2 separate regions of the Homo sapiens genome follow, and region 1 is linked to region 2. Evidence: promoter capture Hi-C in human tissues and cell types (Jung and others, 2019). All regions are on one chromosome and are shown on one strand. The core of a region is centred on a gene start or on the middle of the fragment in contact, and the rest is flanking DNA. Distances in the headings are between cores, read along the strand shown.

What was found. Contacts are between HindIII fragments. The study calls those that stand out against the background at their distance.
Region 1: a fragment that was not itself captured here is called in contact with the fragment with the promoter of ZEB1 in region 2 in 3 of the 25 tissues and cell types used here (H1 embryonic stem cells, dorsolateral prefrontal cortex and lymphoblastoid cells).

What each region holds. Positions count from the first base shown.
Region 1 is chr10:30,766,165-30,768,998 of GRCh38, forward strand. No RefSeq gene overlaps it. Among named protein-coding and RNA genes, the nearest start is that of LINC02644, 44 kb to the left of the region's middle. The HindIII fragment of the contact is 5,112 bases long and covers 1-2,834 here.
Region 2 is chr10:31,317,647-31,320,521 of GRCh38, forward strand. ZEB1 (zinc finger E-box binding homeobox 1) reads left to right here and starts at 1,570. Exons shown (of 9, transcript NM_001174096.2): 1 at 1,570-1,646. The coding sequence starts at 1,589. ZEB1-AS1 (ZEB1 antisense RNA 1) reads right to left here and starts at 1,449. Exons shown (of 3, transcript NR_148979.1): 1 at 1,250-1,449. RefSeq lists silencers at 765-824, 1,565-2,014, 2,055-2,144. The HindIII fragment of the contact is 10,097 bases long and covers 1-2,875 here.

The DNA of each region.
Region 1 (2,834 bases), core at 235-2,734, 550 kb before region 2:
GGACAGCCCATGGAGGCAGCCAGGGTGAAAATGTGAGCAGAGACACCAGGAGGCTGGGACCCTTGGTCTTCCCCAACCCAAGGTGACATGTGACTGCTTTGGGGCTCCACTGCACACTCTGTCTGAGACCCAGAGATCCAGAGAGAATGATCGGAGCTTGAGATCCCTGGACATAATCCAGATTTGGGAGACCAACCCAAGGGAGAGTGAGAGACATGGGCTCATCTGCTGCAGCCCAAGAGGGTCACTGCATCAGCACAGAGCTGGCAGAGGGAGGGGAGTTTCTTCAGCAGTGGCAGCCTGGGATCATTTGTTTACCTGTTATAATGGGAGCTCACACCTAATTTTAAGTAAAAATGTGTGTTTTCAAGTTTATGGCCCTTCTTTCCCCAACTTCCTTAACTGTGCTGGTTGTTTTAGGGAGAATGATGAACCGTGTTGCCTCCTGGCCTGTGCCAGCTCCCGCCCTGTCCCCTCCCCAGCGCCAGCTGCCACCTGCACCTTTAATCATGTCAGGAGGGTCCAAAATGCTGACATCTGCTTCTGAAGTTCGGTTTTAAGTACTTTTTCAGAAATGCAGTTCAATGGACTCCACCTGAAATGTCATTTGGAAAATGCTTGGCATTTCTATAGCAGGGCATTTGTTCATTTTAGGAAAAAATTATGAAGGCAAAATAAAGACCAGACTTGTGGGCCAATTCTTAACGCGACCGCTTGCTAGCAGGAACAGCTCTCCCGCCTCCTCGTTCTCCTCCATCTTTCCTTTGTGGCCACAGTCCTGGGTTGTCACACTTCCACAATAGGGAAAAACAACCACCACTCGCATCTGCATATTTGACAACTCCAGCTTTTCTCCCCAAAAGGAACCTTAGCTCCAGGCGCTTAAACTGGCACCCTTTGCTTTACACTTTCTTTATAATACCTAGGGTGTAGAAAAACAGTAAAACGTTTTTATTGTTTAATTTGAAGCAATTATGATTGTATGTAATAGAATCCATTTAGTTCAGTTACTTAAGAGTTTAAACAAGTAACCAAATTTCTGGCAAATGGAGAGTGTGCAACAGGGAATTTCTGGGCCAAAGTGGCTAAAACAGCATTCAGGGATTGTCTCCTGCATGTGATCACCCTCCTCCACAGTGGAATTCACATAGGCCGTGACTTGGAATCTTGGTGTAATCATCATTTCTAAACAGTGGCTTGGACACCGAGATTAGCATTAATTTAGAAGAACAGAAGAGCAGATAAAATTGGGTGCAGGACTGGGCATGGTGGCTCACACCTGTAATCCCAGCACTTTGAGAGACCAAGGCAGAAGGAACGCTTGAGGCCAGGAGTTCCAGACTAGTATAGACAACATAGCAAGGCTCCCATCTCTACAAACACAGACACACCACACACACAATTAGCAGGGAGAGGGGCGTGCCTGCTGTGGTCCTAGCTATTCGAGAGGCTGAGGCACGAGGATCACTTGAGCCCAGAAGTTTGAGGCTGCAGTGAGCTATGATTGTGTCACTGCACTCCAGCCTGGGTGACAGCAAGACCCTGTCTCAAAAAAAAATTGGTGCAGCCAGAGAGCTACAAGAAAAACATAAGGTGAGAGTACAGAGTGATGGAACAGAAGAGGACTTCGTGGCAGGGTTACACAAAGGTCCCCAGCCCCGGGGCAACCTCCATGTGGTGCTTCACATGGGGCCTCCCGTGGGAACAGCTCAGGGGGGCTGGAAACCCCAGCCCATAGCAGGAACCCCATCTCATTACCTGCTCCCTAGCTCTCTGCTTCCTGCCTGCAGCTCTCAAACCCCTGCTGCTGGACTTCCATGTATGCGGTTCCTCAACGATCAAAGCAGGGTCTATTAGGTTGAGTCACCTTCCCCAGTGAGGGGCACCCCCTGGAGCCCCAGTGGAAAGCTGAGCTGGGCACACGCAGACCTGGGGCTTGGTCACTCTTTTTTTTTTAATTTCGTTTTATATTTTACCTTCATACCACAGTGAAGTCCATCCGTCATTCTTCGGTTTGGTGATTCTCTCTCTCTCTCTCTGTTTCTTCTGTATGCAATGTTGTTGACTTACGACTCTCAGAGCCCAGCTTGGATTTTCTAGAACTGAAGATCTATATTATTGATAGACCTCAAGGATTAACCTATAATGCTTTCATTTACATTTAAACTGGGCTATAAAGTTGCCTCAAATGCAACCCCATTGTGTCCGGAATTGGTGGGTTCTTGGTCTTGCTGACTTCAAGAATGAAGCTGCAGACCCTCGCGGTGAGTGTTACAGTTCTTAAAGATGGTGTGTCCGGAGTTTGTTCTTTCTGATGTTCCGATGTGTTCAGAGTTTCTTCCTTCTGGTGGGTTCGTGGTCTCACTGGCTTCAGGAGTGAAGCTGCAGACTTTCGCGGTGAGTGTTACAGCTCTTAAGGCGGATCGTCTGGAGTTGTTCGTTCCTCCCGTCCAGAGTTGTTCATTCCTCCTGCTGAGTTCGTGGTGTCGCTGGCTTCAGGAGTGAAGCTGCAGACCTTCACGGTGAGCGTTACAGTTCTTTAAGGCAGTGTGGACCCAAAGAGTGAGCAGAAGCAAGAGTCATGGTAGAGGGCAAAAGAAAAAAGCTTCCACAGTGTGGAAGGGGACCCGAGCAGGTTGCCGCTGCTGGCTCGGGCAGCCTGCTTTTATTCCCTTATCTGACCCCACCCACATCCTGCTGATTAGCCCATTTTACAGAGAGCTGATTGGTCCATTTTATGGAGAGCTGATTAGTCCGTTTTACAGAGAGCTGATTGGTCCATTTTGACAGGGTGCTGATTGGTGCGTTTACAATCCCTGAGCTAGACACAGAAT
Region 2 (2,875 bases), core at 320-2,819:
TCAAGATTAAACTTTCTAACTTTAAATCATCAGACTTCAGCTGTAAATTTATTTCAGTTGAAAGGTTTGAAGACATTATTAATGAATATTCTAAAATTCCGGAAGGTGTTTAAAAGATAATTTTAACCTAATAAAAAAATCCTGCCATAGAAGTGACAAAAATTATAAGCATAAATTTATTGAGCACCTACTATGTGTCATTGTGCTAGGTGATGTACTACGTTATTTCCAATACTCCGGTCACGTTTCAGTTTTCTCAATTTCTCTATCAATAACTGCTACATTGTTAATTTATAACTATATTACTTGAAATACAGCTCAGCTTATTTATTCCATAAAGTTGGTCCCAAAGACGTTTCCTTATTCGAAGGAGGTGGGAAGCAGGAAGGAAACCTAAATCTAAATTCTACTTAATACTGAAGACGACTTTCTTGATATTTGTGGTTATCTGTATGGTCTTTTCAGAAATCCCAAAACTTGTACCAAGTCAAGGATAAAATAAGATAAAATCAGCAATCTATCAGGTTCAGAGATCACATCTGTCAGCCGATGCTTCTTGCCTTAAGGTCCTGCACGGCGATGACCGCTCATTTAGGAAGGAATTCATGGCCTGTGGATACCTTAGCTCTGAGTCCTGCCACCTAGGATCCCACGGTTCTACGCGAGGAAGAGGGCGGGGAGCGCGGACCGGGTGTGGGAGGCCGAGGTGACAGCAGGTGAGGGCCGGGTGCGGATGGGGAAGTGAGACAAGCACCGTGTGGGTATTACTCATTCCGCTCTACTAAGGAGGCTGCTGGCAAGCGGAACTTCTAGCCTCTCTTTCAATCCAGCTGAAGTTCAATCTCATTGAAGTCACTTCCCATCCCGGTTCGCTTGGGGGGAAACCAGGCGTCCCTGGAAGGGAAGGGAAGGGAGTCCGGGCTGCGCGGGTCAGGTAGCCTCTCTCCGGTCGCCGCGTGTCCTCGCCGTCCCCAAACCTGCCCTTCCCCTCATCAAGGGAACTCCCCGGGGAGTCCAGACCGCGATCCCTTTCCTTGGCCCCGGGGTGCGGGGGGCGGACACGCGAGGCGTGGGACTGATGGTAGCCCTGCCTCCAGGAAGCAGGCAGGCGGGGACCTCTGGGCGCTCGGAGGGGCAGCTCCGAGGGCACAGGGTACAGGGAGAATCAGCCAGATCCCTCCCTGCCCCGGGCAGCCGCGGCGGGTGTGGCCAGCGCGGAGGCAGGACGCCGCCGAGCCTCCAACTTTACCTTTCCAACTCCGACAGCCCGTCGCCTTTCTGACCGCGTCCCTACGGTTTCCCGGCATCCGCCTCCCTCTCCCCACCACACCTGAGGAAAACTTTTCCCTCGCCCCTCAATTCAAATTCAGCAGTGCCCACGGTTGCCGCAAACCGCCCGGTCCCTAGCAACAAGGTTCCGGCCGTAGAGCGAGAGCCTCTAGGTGTAAGGAAGGTGATGTCGTAAAGCCGGGAGTGTCGTAAACCAGGTGCGGTGGGGAGGGGGGAGGGGTGGAGGCGGAGGGGTGGGGGGGAAGGGGGAGGGAGGGGGAGGAGGTGACTCGAGCATTTAGACACAAGCGAGAGGATCATGGCGGATGGCCCCAGGTGTAAGCGCAGAAAGCAGGCGAACCCGCGGCGCAATAACGGTGAGTGGCGGAGGGGACCGGGGAGCGGCGGAGTCAGGGGGAGCTGGGCAGCCGGGGCGCCCCCGGGGGTGAGGGGGGCGAGCCGGGCTGGGGGCAGCCGGGGCAGGGACGGCAAAGTGGAGTGGGAAAGTAGAAAGTAGTGCTCTCTGCCCCCCTCCGCTGCCGCCGCTGCCGGAGCCGCGCCGCGGCCGCTCGCTCTCCCTGAACCGTTATGTCTCTTACCTGGTCTCTCTCCGCCTAGCGGCTCCCGCCGCCCCTGCCGCCTCCCTGGACCGTTAGCCGGCGCCGACGCCGCCGCATCCCCGGCGCAGGGCGGGCGGCCGGGACGCACTGGCCACTTTTCTGGTCCCGGGTGGAGCGGCTGTTGCTTCTTTCCGCACTTTTCCCCACTCTTGTGCCCTTCGGCGCCTCCCTCTCCCCCTCCTCCTGGCCCCCTCAGCGCGATTCTCCCTCAGCGCCCAGGCCCCCGGGAGCCGCGGAACAAACTTGTGCCCGGCGCTGACCGTGCAAAGTGGCTTCCGCGCGCCGCGGCCCCGGCCGGCGCCGTCGCTGTCGCTCGGGCCCCGCGACTCGGGCCGGGCTGTGGGCGCGCGGCAGGCGGGCTGCGGCGGCGGCGGGACGGGGCGGCCGCGGGTTGCGTGGGGTTTGTGCGCGCGTGTGCGCGGGCGCCGGCTGTGCGCGCCGCGGGCGGACAGGGTTCGGCCGGCGGCGGTAAAGTTGGGACCCGCGGGCCGGGCGCGCTCGCGTAACGGGGATTAGAGGCGCGGGGGCGCGGGTCCCTAAGCGCCCCTCCTCCCTGGCGCCTCCCGCTGCCCGGCCCAGAGCCCCGGCCTGGGGACTCCGCGGCGAGCCCCGCGAGTGGGGTCCACGTTTGGCGGGGCGCGGCGGGGCGGCGCGGGGAACAAGGCAGGAAAGGTACCCACTTAACGCCGCCGGGAGCCGCGCGGATGGGGGCGAGCTGGGCGGCGGGTGTGTTTGCGGAGTTGTTACCTGGGCTTAGAGACCGGGAAGCACCACAGACAGATCCCCCTCCCGGGGCAGACGAGGTCTCTGCGCCGGGATGGGCCGGTGTGCGTGCGCCTCGCGCTTTTCTCTTTCGGTTTTTGGGGAAGTTGTTACCTGGGCCGGACGCACGGAGCGCTGAAGCCGGATAATGGGGCTTGGATGGCGCTCTGGGTCTCGGGTGGAAGGAGGGTGGGGGAGGGGGCGGACGGACCGACGGACGCGCG